2 separate regions of the Homo sapiens genome follow, and region 1 is linked to region 2. Evidence: promoter capture Hi-C in 16 types of primary human blood cells and fetal thymus (Javierre and others, 2016). All regions are on one chromosome and are shown on one strand. Each heading gives the region's core, a stretch centred on a gene start or on the middle of the fragment in contact. The rest is flanking DNA. Distances are from core to core; before and after follow the strand shown.

Evidence for each region. The method cuts DNA at HindIII sites, captures the fragments that hold promoters and counts their contacts. A CHiCAGO score of 5 or more calls a contact.
Region 1: a fragment that was not itself captured here is called in contact with the fragment with the promoter of LRRC8D in region 2 in 1 of 17 cell types (neutrophils); the score reaches 6.0 in neutrophils.

The regions. Positions count from the first base shown.
Region 1 is chr1:87,321,436-87,327,967 of GRCh38, forward strand. No RefSeq gene overlaps it. Among named protein-coding and RNA genes, the nearest start is that of LMO4, 4.2 kb to the right of the region's middle. RefSeq lists a silencer at 4,628-4,677. The HindIII fragment of the contact is 2,031 bases long and covers 1,873-3,903 here.
Region 2 is chr1:89,819,195-89,825,308 of GRCh38, forward strand. LRRC8D (leucine rich repeat containing 8 VRAC subunit D) reads left to right here and starts at 1,838. Exons shown (of 3, transcript NM_001134479.2): 1 at 1,838-2,097. It overlaps LRRC8D-DT (LRRC8D divergent transcript), which reads right to left and starts at 2,600. Exons shown (of 1, transcript NR_185885.1): 1 at 980-2,600. RefSeq lists silencers at 1,367-1,426, 1,867-2,216, 2,317-2,416, 2,507-2,716, 2,588-2,807. The HindIII fragment of the contact is 10,555 bases long and covers 1-5,695 here.

The sequences.
Region 1 (6,532 bases), core at 1,638-4,137, 2.5 Mb before region 2:
ATAAGATAAAATTTCTAGAAATCAAGGCATGTTTTAAATGTCATCTAGGAAATAACCATTAAATTTTAAATTATTATTTATATTGTTTGCGATATTACATAGTACATATTAAGAGTTGAAAATACTGGTTGTTTTTCTAGAAAGCAATTGTTGTAGTAAATAAAACAATAATGAAATCACAATGATGAAAACTCAGTAAGGAAATAAAAGGAACATTTGTCTAGTAGAGTTTACCCTGAGAAATAATTGAATTTGGAGAAACCCAGCAAAAATGAGACAGGAGGAAAATAAACCTAAAACTGAAAGAGAGTTGTGATTGGTGATGATTGTTATTTAACGTTCTGGCAAATGAACTTTAAAGTGATAGTCATAACACATTAAATGGTATCTGTACATTTTATATCAAATATATTATAAACTTTTTCCCAAATAATAATGAACTTGCCTACTATCCATTAATTCAAAAAAATTCTCTTTTATTCTATCAGCTGTATTACAACACTTGAAGAGACCTTTTAAAATCTTTCAGTATTTGTTCTGCTCCACCTCTATCTGTTCCAATGATCTTAGGGCTTTCTTTCCAAAAGGCAGACGCTGGTATAACTACAAATGAAAACTATATCTAAATCATTAGTAGAATAGTGATGTTATGCATTCAATAGTTGAGATCTGTGATTCCTCCCTCTCAGGAGTAAACCACACAGATGAAAATTAATAGAAACTGAGTGACCGTCTTAATAGAAATCACACTAGAAAAAAGAGAAATGCTTAAGTTGTGAATTCCCCCATATTGTTAATGGAGTTCAAGTAGGCCATCAATATGTGTCCTATTTACTGATAGGTGCAAAATAGGTGGTGGGAGATCAATCAAAACCCCCTTCCATAAATTACCATGACTTCTAGAAATTATCAAAACTTCACTGGAGTGTCATGCGTAGTCTTCCCAGCAATGAGTTATAGTCAATAATTCATTCCCTGACGGAGCTGATAACAGGCAGATATTCTAATAATGTGCTAGGATTTACTACTGGACACAAGCAGTAAGTAGGAATTTCAATGCAGTGTTAAATGTTATCTCAGTGGAGAAAAGCAATAAAAAGAGGACAGAGAGAGGCATCTGGGGACAATGCTTGGGTGTTTTAATGCTGTAATTAGAGCAAACATGTATGAAGGTAGTGTTGTTTAAGTTTTCATTCTTTTTTGAGGCAAATTGTTTCCAGAGTATTGTTCTGTAATGACTTCTCCTGGCCTTATTGTCAGAGAGTATAGCAGATGGCATTGAAAAAAAATGCTGAAAAGAAAGTCTATTTTATTCTTCAGTTATTTCTCCAAATTTGAAAATGGCTTCCCTTGAATGTTTTCCTTTTAAATGAAACTTTCAAAAAAATTATTATCTTAGACTAAAGGTCTTAAATATATTTTCAGTGATTTCTTATCACACAGAGAAATTGACAAATTTGCTTTCTCTGTCAGAATGTTTTGAAGCTAGAAAAGAAGTGGTGATTCATCAAAAACAATTTTATTATGAAATTTGATTTATGTTGAGAAATATAAATGATGATGTTATAATGTGTACCTCTGTGTGGTGGGAACACATTTTAGTCAATTGAGTTATTCAATTTTATTATTTAAAAAAATCCATATCTGGTTGTTCTTTTTATTCTAAAAAATTTATGGTGCTGTATAGAGAAGAAATGCGTGCTTTCCAAGTCCAAGGACAGCTATGGATTGTACTTCCATAATTCCAACAGAGTCATTCATTACAATTGGATGAATAAATATTATCATATTTTCATCAACTTTTTTAGTGAACAAATAGAAACCAATGTTATACTTTAAAATACATCTTATTACAAATCCACACAGAGAAAAAGCTTAATTATATCAACACTAGAATTAAAACTGACACTAACAAAAGAAATTATGGTTTTGGGCCCTTAAAATTTCTGAATTAGTAGCCTTTCTTTTACCAAGAAGAGTTAGTGGGAACATAAGGGAGAACGAATTACATCTTAATGCCTTAGTTTCTCTATCAGTAAGTGCTCATTTCCATCGTCTTGGAGAGAAACAGTAATTAATTTTAAACAGAATTGCTATTTTCTGCTGGATTTATAACTTCAACATATATTCTTAGTAATAACCACCTCACATATATACAAGTGGCCCAGTCATCTATATACCCTCTTTTGTAACTATTATGAAATTAAATCTATCCATGCAAAGACTTGACTTTAATAAGCAGTAGCTATTGACCCACTAGACCATTTAAAAGACCTTAATGAACATATAATACACTCACACATATAGTCTGATAATTTATTTGCAATGATAGATGCAGAATATCACTGTGATTGAATATTGTTGACAGAATTCAGGCTTAGAAATAGGTAGTATGAGTAAGCCAAACAATTTTTTCTATGGTATCATTGCCATGAAACAGATTCACATATCAAGATTTGCTGGGCTGAGCACAATGGCTCACATCTGTCATCCCAGCACTTTGAGAGGCTGAGGTGGGAGGATCCCCAGAGGCCAGGAGTTCAAGACTAGCCTGGGCAACCAGTGAGACCCCTGTCTCTACCAAAAAAAATTAGCTGGGCGTGGTGGTATGCACCTGCAGTCCCAGCTACTGGGGTAGGGGTGAGGGGGCTAAGGAGGTGGGAGGATGGCTTGAGCTCAAAGTTTGAGGCTGCAGTGAGCCTTTAGCCTGTGACCCATCCAAGACCTTGTCTCAAAAAAAAAAGAAAAAAAAAAGATTTGCTGATAGTTCTGAGGCAAATTTGGGGGATTTGTACTGTTCTGTTGCTATGCTAATAAACTTTTACGAAGACAATGAGTAATTTCACGACACTATTTTAAAGTAGCCTTGCTACATCAGGCAAAATGCTGGGTCACAGAGGTGTTTTCTTCTTTCCTATTATCTTTTTCACCTTTCTATCAACTCTAGGAGTTTCAAATACCTTAATCAAATAGAATAATTAAAATCAAAATCTACATCTTAAATTATATTTCCAGTCACAACAATGTCAATGCTGTTTCCTTTTCCTCAGTGATCTGTTATTTTCTTGCCATAAAATCAACTTCTTCACTATGCTTGTTTATTACCTTAAAAAGAGTAGTTAGGGTAGAACTTCCTAAATATTGATTAACATAATTTGGTGGGATACTTACCCAACGTAGTCATCTGGATTGCTTTAACAAAAAACAAACAATAATATTCTAATAAGGCAATTATTAGAAACATTTATCACATGAAACATTTAGTGAGATATTTATAAAGAATTTTGAGAAAGACTAAAAAGGCAGTCAGTAAATTCAAAGTATTATTAAATATTATCAATATTTTAAAGCCAAGATATGGTTCCGTGAAATATAGGCTTTTCGAGATGTTGAGTTCTAGGTAAACTCTTATTATTATTATTATTTTGCGACAGGGCCTCACTCCCATTTCCCAGGTTAGAGTGCTGTGGCACAATCATGGCTCACTGCAGCCTCAACTTCCAGGGCTCAGGTGATCCTCCCACCTCAGCATCCCCAGCAGCTGGGACTACAGGCACATGTCACCACACCCAGCTAAAGTTTTGTATTTTTAGTAGAGATGGAGTTTTGCCATGGTGCCCAGGATGGTCTTGAACTCAAGGGATTCACCTGCCTCGGCCTCCCAAAGTGCAGGGATTATAGGCGTGGGCCACTGGGCCTGTAAACTCCTATTCTTAAATGAAGCAGCAGGTCCGACTATACTTACTGTGCCATACACCCTGCTGCTCAGACGACAACGCCACCACAGAAAACTGGCCCAGGACCTAACCTGCCCTTCCTCTTCCTTGGGTTTTTTCTGTTGGTAACTACTGTTCCCTTTTCTCTCCACACCTTTTACACTCTGGAATTGTTGTCCTAGACTCAAGCTTTTTGTATTCACGTTGGAGGAAACTGAATATCAAGGGATCTCTGTGATGGCAGCAATAAAGTTGAGCAGATTTTTAAAAATTTTCCTTCCTAAAAAGACTTTCTTCAAAAACGGTTTTGCATTGACTTTAAAAGGACAGAATATTTTTTCCTGAGAAAGAGCTGGGGCATGTTGTCTTGGAGGTCATATCAGCATCAAATAGCCTAGACTTTCTCCAGACATTAAAGGCTGCATAGGTCTGTGTAGAACCTCTGGCTGTCCATGGGAGATTCTTAGCGAACTGTCACTTGGAGAAAAGAATGATTATGATTGAAGGACATAAACGAGAAAGGAAGCTATGAACAAATAATTTTGGGGCAAGTGGAGAAAATGACGGCTTGATCTAGGAGCAGTATGGTTCCCACATTTAATTAGGATTCAAGAAAGAAACGATTTACATTTATCTTTCTTTTCCAAAGCCCCCTAATCTTATATCTCATTGCAGATGAGTAGGATGAATGATGAATGTGTGATATCAGCAGAGGTTTCGTCAACTGTGGGGCACAATATAACATTATTTCGAGTTAGGCAATTTTACTTCATACCAGGAATATTACTTTATGCACTGTTTTTAATATTTGTTTGAAGAATATCCGAATACAGAATTTCTTTACCCATACTGAATTTGTGTGTGTTTACAAGGTTTTTGTGTTTCGCATCAGTGGAAATAAAAGATTGACGTTGCTACCCACTCAACCAGGCATTTTCAGACCACAAATCAGGATGAGAAAGGACTGCTAAACGCAAAGAATGCAGAAATAAAGATTACCCAGAGGTGGCGCTGTGGTAAAAGTACACCTGAATTTTGATTACAGTGAATGTATTTACTCCCTACCTCTCAGAAGAGAGACTGTTAGCCATTATCGCTTTTGTATTTCTATAAACACACATCAGCAAATAAAGCTCTCTGGTAATACACTCCCATCCACTCCAATCTACCAGGACATGTTTAAAGACCTCACTCCGCACAGAATTAGAGCTGAAGCACTAAAACCACCTCCTAAAATGTAGGCCCTGTAGCCTAGAGCTCTGTTATTCAAAGTTTTATCCATCTCACTCTCCTTCCTTCCACAAACACCACCGGGATCCTCTGGATAATCACTCAATGATAGCTGAACATGTGTCTGGTTAAATTTCTAACATTTCCTTCAGGAATTAAGATTTCGTTTTAGTGCATATTCTTCAGGAAAAATCCTGAAAAGTACCACAATTCGTTATACATCTATGCATTATGTGCTCTATCTAAGAAAATCATTTTTAAAAAGAAAAAATAAAGACCATTTGGCTTAATTCTCTCATTTGTGGATGAGAAAATTAAGGCCCAGAGACGGAAATTTACTTGCACATGACAAATCATAACTTAATTGTAGCCCACTAAGATCTTGTGTCATCTCCTTTTATTATAAATTATTTAAAAAGTGAAAATGAACCAGGGGATTCAAATGTATTATTTGTTTATGGTGTTCCTCTCCTCATCTGGTTTAATTGAGTTTTCTTGACTAACCTTCAAGCAGCATTACATCTTTTCTAAGTTGGTCCTCTTTAATCATGCCCATCTGTAGCTGTTTTCTGTGTAGGACATTTTAATTACTATTATAGTTTTAATGACTTTTTTTTAAAAAAAGTTTTTTATATGTGCACAAGGTGAATTCATCATAGCAGTGCAACTTTAAATACAAATCAATAAAATTAATTCATTTAATTTTAAGGTGCTAGAATTAAAAAATGAGTATTTGAATTGATATTTAAAATGCCCTCTACCTGACTGTATGGGCAATAATTATTCTTTCTTATGCAGCCTTATTAATTTTGATGGTTTGAAAGACAGAAATCCCCCAAATAGACACTAAAACCCTAAATGTTCAACATCTGCATTGTCTCGCCAGATTCTCCTTCAGGTTCCTTTCCTCAATCTAGCAGTACTGTGTGTAACACAATATGAAAACTTGCCCCACAAGGCTGGTTTTACTTAATGATACTTAGCAGAAGGGCTTTGCACTTTCATGATAATTTCCACCAGAAAAATCTCTCTGGAACTTACTAACAATAATCAGGCCTAATATTAGCCTCAGTCTGGAGATTTATTTAACCTATTTGGCAGAGTAGATAAAGTCGAATGCCTAGGTATTCAAGCATCTAGGCTGTGCTTCGGCCTTGGAAAAAGACTCTCAGGCTAGCACCCTAAAAGCATTCCTCAAAACTTGATTTATACTAGAAGTGACATTTCTTACTCTCTAGAGGCTGTGAGATTGCAAATCTTGCAATTACTTCCATTGCTTTTGGGGGCTGTGAGAATTTCCGCCTCTCATCCTCCACAGTGAGGAGGGTAGTCGGGAAAGGCTTTCTCCCTTAAGTTTTCGTCAACTTTGAAAATAAGGACTGTGCTCCCTACATCACCAGCAATTGACAAGGATCCAGGAAATGCCTGCTAGGCACTTTCAAACTCGGAAAAATGGGAGTATGAGGGAGGCTAAGTAGGCAGTATTTAGCTAGCAACTATTATTTCCTTTATGTTTCTACCTTGTTAACTAAGCTTCCACTACGGTTCATAAATCTCCAATATCGTGAATTAAAGAAACAACAACA
Region 2 (6,114 bases), core at 588-3,087:
AAAAGAACAAAGTACAGAAGATTGGTTTTTTTGGTTTTTTGGTTTTGAGATGGAGTCTCACTCTGTCGCCCAGGCTGGAGTGTGGTGGCACCATCTCAGCTCACTGCAACCTCCGCCTCCCAGGTTCAAGCGATTCTCCTGCCTCAGGCTCCTGAGTAGCTTGGATTACAGGTGCGTGCCAACATGCCCAGATAATTTTTGTGTCTTTAGTAGAGACGGGTTTTCACCATGTTGGTCAGGCTGGTCTCTAACTCCTGACCTCGTGATCCTCTTGCCTCGGCCTCCCAAGGTACCGGGACTACAGGCGTGAGCCACTGCACCCGGCCTATAATTTTTTTTTTTTTTTACAAACAGCAAAACATTCCATATTCATTATAATAGTGGGCTGTTTTCAATAAAAATATCACACCACTAGTTGTTAAGTTTTAAAAGACCTCTCATCTCTTAGATCAGCAAATCTGACACTGATTAGATCACTTACACACACTCCCTGCCCATACACCTCCTTCTTGGCAGTGTGTGGAACAGGAGTGGCTGCTGGCAAGGAGGGTCGGGGAAGGAAAGTGAGAGCAAAAGGGCCGAGGGCTCAGAATCTGGTGGCATCTTGTAACGGGTCTCGGGCAGTCCCTTGAGTGTATTCTGGACCTCTCTGTTCATGTTCCTGTTTGGGCTGCTCTTCTTCACGTCCAATGCCTGAGGGCCAAGTGCTCACCATCCAAGGGTCAATTCTATCAGCTCCTCTCTGAATCCTTTTCTGAAACCCTGGACAATCATTCTCTTTAATGTCTCACTGTCTCTGAACCGACACCTTCCTGAGTACCTGTAACATTTGTGCAGCATGCTTATTAAGAATATTTAGATGCTGGGTAAACGTTGATTGAACATTTGCTGACATGGAGAGATATTGGTAGAAGACAGATTAGACTTCCGATGGTTTACAGAAACACATGGATTCAGATAAAAGAAGATATGAAAGCACTGGGTTGAACCACATATTTTATTACAACCAAATAACTCCAAATATCCCGCCTTAATTTATTTATTGGCCCCTGCCTCTGCTCACCCACAAAAAAGACTGCAAATGAACCCCGATCCTACAACAACAACAACAAAAAACGGTGACATTATCGGGCTGCAAAACCCTCTTAGCATAGAATAATCTTTTCATCTGCCTCTTTCAGATGTAACATATTTTTGACGAAAAGAATGGGATGAAAACGGCGGGCTCAGATAAAAACAAGAACCGACTTTCCAATACAGCTTCAATAACAGACGGAACACATGAAGCTGAGAAACTCTCCATGCCAAGTAGTAGTTGTGTGTGCCCCAAAGCTCAGATAAGTACTTCTCCTTAGAGTTGGAAGGCACTTAAGTGACTTTTTAACGTAATTCAACTCCCCACCCCCAGCGCCAAGTCTTAATATCAGAGTTTTAGTCGACGGGACAGCCTCCTTCGCCCAGGACGGGTGAAGGCTCCTGACCATGCCTCGCAGCTAACTGGCAGCTGCGCCTGCCCGGCACCGAGCCCTGCCCAGGTGGACGCTTGCGAGAGCATTACGGCGATGGTTATGTAGGCTGCCGTTCTTCCCCTCCCAAGCACCTGCTCCGCATCTAGCAGTCGCTCGCCGCCAGTCTCCAACCCCGGGTCCCCTCCCTCGCCACACAGACCCCGTCCGGTCAGGCGCTGCAGGGCCACCGGAGAAAGCGCTCGCAATCACATGGAGGCCCGGGCCCGCCCCATTGGCTGCGGCCGGGCCAGTCGCGGCACTCGCCGGCTGCGGTTGGTCCCAGAGCTGCAGCGCCTGCACGGGCCCGGAGTCCATGTTACGCTTTGTCTAATTCCCCTCGTTACAGAGTCATGTGCTGCTGCTCCCGTCGCCGCTGCTGCCGCTGCCGCTGCCGCCGCCCGTGGTGCCCCGGCTCCTCCGCCGCGCTTCGAGGTGGCAGCCGCGGGCGGGGCCGCGGGAGCAGGGTCCAGGGTGCAGCGCGCCTTCGCCGCCCCGGCGCGTCCCGGTGCAGCCGCCGCCCGCCGCGGGTGATGCCGCCACCTCCGGCCTCAGCATAAGCCGTGGCTTGGCGGCCGAGCTGCACCCCAAGGTTGGTGCGCACCTCTCCCGGCAGGGGCCGGGGGCTGCGAGGGAAGGCGACGCGCAGGTGGAGCCGCGCCGAGCCGGAGCGCGCAACCCTGGCGCAGGCGCCGCGGCCCGAGCTGCGGTTGCGGCCGGGAACTCATTCGGGGACGTCCGGGGGTCGGGAGGAGGTGGCGGCGAGCGGAGTGGGCTCCCGTTTGCTGCCGCCAGGGCCTGGGAGATTGTTCCGCTTTCTGCAGTCTGAGCGTCGGCCGCTTCGGCCCCGGGCGGCCGGCCCTGCGGGAGGGGAGTGCGGCTTCCTGGCTCCTGAACCCCTCGCGCGCGCTCCCTTCTCTCACCTCCCTCCGCCCTATCGGAAAGGCGGGGAGAGCCGGTTTCGGCTCTGCTGGTTCCTCCCGGAGGTGGGTGTTTGGTGTCTGGCCTTGCTGGCCCGGCGTCCAAAGGTGAGCCCTTTAACTTCTCCAGAATCGCCTCCCCTCCGCTTCCTTCCTGTGCAGGGTGGGCTGCGCTGGGAGCCCGGCGGGCGGGGGCGGGGAGGTGAAGGCCCGCGCCCCGCCCCCCGCGCCTGTGGGAGGGAGCTGGGGGCCCGCAGGTGCACCCAGCCGTCCGCGGGCCGTCTCCGGGTTGGGTACCGGTATAATCCGCTTCTAGCTTGTTTGGAGGCGTGGGCTCTTGGGAGCGGGACTTCTGCTCAAATCCTGTCCAGGGGCTTGAAAAGGAGGAGAATTGGGGGTGGTTGCCGGGAGGACCAGCACCTCCAGTTACTGGAGGGTTGATAGGGGCCTTCTCCTTTCCGTCACCCTTTACTAGGGGGTATCCCTTGCAGATAAATGAGATTTTTTGATTTCTTAAAAAGCCAGCTGCAGTGAAGAAGAACTGCTGCAGGTCGAGGGGAAGAGAGGTAGGTCCTTGCTGGAGAGGGAGAGGTGGGCTGTGAGGTTCCAGGAGCACGCACTTGGGGTGTGTGTGGCCGAAAGTATGGAGGTAGGGTTGTGGGAAGGAAACAGCCGAGATGAGAGGGAGGGCGCACTCAGGATGTAGGCGGAGAGATGGGGAATAGGTACTGGGGAGTCCTAGCGGAATGTGGGGCCCAGCTGGAGCCGCTTGGCTTATATTTGGCTCCTCGTTGCCTCGCAGATTTCCTGCTCTTGGATCTTCAAAAATATTTTTTTGTTGGACAAAGAAAACTCTGAGGACATATTTTGGAAGAGCTGATTTCTGGAAACTTTCCTTGGCAGCTTTGATAGTAAAATTCCGTACAGGCAGCGTTTATTGAGCACCTATTACGTGGTTTGTACCGGACTTTGGAAGAGTCTGGACAGGCAGGGAATCCCCGTTTGCAGTAATGATGAGGGCTGTCTACCTTATAAACAAATAAGGGGCCCCTCCCAGTGCCAAGAATGAGAGTGATCAGACCTTCCTCGCCATAGCATCTGGGACCTCTGCTTCTTACAGACCTGTGGGAAGAACCCTGCACCATATCCTGTAAATGGGGTCCTCAGGCAGCATTTATTTTTGCAGTCCAAAAATAGTGACCAAACACCTACTGTCAGCTAGGCGAGAGTTGGGGTTCTTGCTTCATCTGTCTTGACACCAACTAACTAAATCCCTGTTAAAATCCAAGTGCAAGATGGGGAGGAATCTGAGATGAAAATTAGGTGGTTAAAACAGGGGTCACGAAAAGTTGATTTGGGGTGTTTGGTCTCTGTAGGTTACTTATGGAGCCCCCCATAAAATGATTAGGTAATCTATGGAGCCAGGGAAAAATTCCAAAATCTTGAATTGGCACAGTTTATTTATATATTTGAACACTATGTTAGATTTGTCTCGTTTTTATTGAGAGTGTATGTGTGCGTGTTGATTAAAACCTAACAGATTAGAAGGTTGGAGAGGAAACTGTCCTTAGATGACCCAGCCTTCCATTACCATGTGGAGTAGCATATGATGCAACACTTAAAGTATTGAGCCATATTCATATCATTTTCTCCCTGCTGTGTTTTCCAGCATTTAAAAAACATGGTCAAAACTTGGCCCTTTTTTTCTCAAAATCGCTAAAGTTTAATGGAAAGAAAAAAGAAAAAAACTAGGCCCCTTTTCCCTTAATTTTTATATTATGCAGCATTTTTAAAAATTAATTTTAGAAAATTCTGATGTGTTTGTCATGTCCAAATAGTTAAATTGTTTTGGTAGCTATAGTTTGGAAATTAGACTCGATTCTGTTCTCAGTACTGTAGACAAAATAGCTATTAAAGTCAAAAGTTTGTCAAAACTTTGTAATCATGATTATTATGTTGTTGAAGTGGTAGCTTGTAAGAGATTTCAGTTATTTTTAATTGGAGCTGGTGTTTGACATTCTAAGAAACACCAGTTAATATTTGTTGAGTGCCAGCAGGAAGCAGAGAACTGGAGTGGGTGCTGTGGGATCTTAACAAGGCAGGAGAGGATTCTCGTAGTAATCACAGAGAGCAGATAAGACAGGCACACATGAGGATGCCAGCAGAAGCAGACAGTTACAGTTGTCTAAGAATCCAGGGTGTGTGGAACCAGATAAAAGTTTATGAAGTATGCTGAGGGAGGAGTGGAAATCTGAATTGACTTTTGACAGTGGTCAGGGATGTGGAACAGAATATACGACTAATAAAGGAGGGTAGAGGGAACCTAGTTCGTGAAAAACTTAACCACAAGTCAGTGGTGTTAATCATTTGCCTCAAGACCAGTGGCTCTCAGAAGTAGGCAATTTTGCTTCTCAGCAGACATTGAGGAATGTCGGAGACATTTATGGTTATCATAGCGAGGTGGCAGGTGCTGCTGTCATCTAGTGGCTAGAGGACAGGGATGATACATAAGCATCCTACTGTGCACAGGACATCAACCCCCTTCCTCCTAAACAAAGAATGATCCTGTCCAAAATGGCGATAGTGCCTGCCCTTAGATCTCAGAATAGGTCTTGAAGGGAGGTGGTTCTTGACATGGGAGGAGTAATAACATTGAGCTTAGGAAGCTGATGTAGGAGACTTGTGCTCAGGTCTGATGTGATTAGGGTCTGGGCAAATCCTTATTGAAAGAAAGGGGCAGTTTGGAGGGAGATCATAGCAGATGAGCACAGTATGATAGTGGAGTAAGTTGGGAATCATTGAAATCAGAATTGGCATTTTAGAGGGGCCCTATCCAATTTATTTATTTTAGTAAATTCTTACCCTTTCTAGGTAACTTTTGTTTAACCCCAGGAACCGTGAACTTCTCCTGAAGACAGGTTATTACACCTTTGGACTGTTTGTTGTATTTTTACTTGAGCTGAAGACTGTCTCCTTGAATTTTTTTTTCCAATGATTTTCTTCTTTTGGAGCTGCCTACTCTCTTTGAATGCACCAAGACAATATGATGTCCCCTTACCCCCAGTTGACTTTGCTAATGCAAACTAGTCCCAATTCTTTTCACAGTCTTTTATTGGGATGTGGTTTCTCGATGTCTTCTCAGTTTATCGGCATCTCACATGGAGAATCTGGAATTGAATATGTAATTGAGATGTGATCTGGCCAACAGAGAGTACAGTAAGACAGCTGTTTGCTGAGACCTAAGCATAAATGTCTACTTACTGCACCTTAAGCTTACAACTGCCTATGATTTTCTTAGGCAGTGCCGAGCACAAACTTCTTTATTAGATAATCATGTTTTGGATAGTCAAAACCCCCAGATATTTGCTCTGTGAGCTGCTGCATCCTGTATTTCTTGGGCAGATTTTTTTGGAGAAGTTTTTTTTGTTGTTGTTGTTCCTTCTCAATGTTATCCTATTTATTTTGATCCAGTCTTCTAGCCTTTGACATTTTTGAATTTATGTCTTCTAATTATATCAGAGAGGAATGGAGGATGACTTTGTTGAAAACTGTAGTCAGTACTATGTAAAACTCAGTAGTTTGGGGGCTCTATTGGTCCTATATGAGAGCTGAGATCACTGAGTGATGGAGGTGAGTTCTAGGGCTAATTAGCCCTTATTTTGGGGGCTTCTGAGAAATTTAAATGCCAG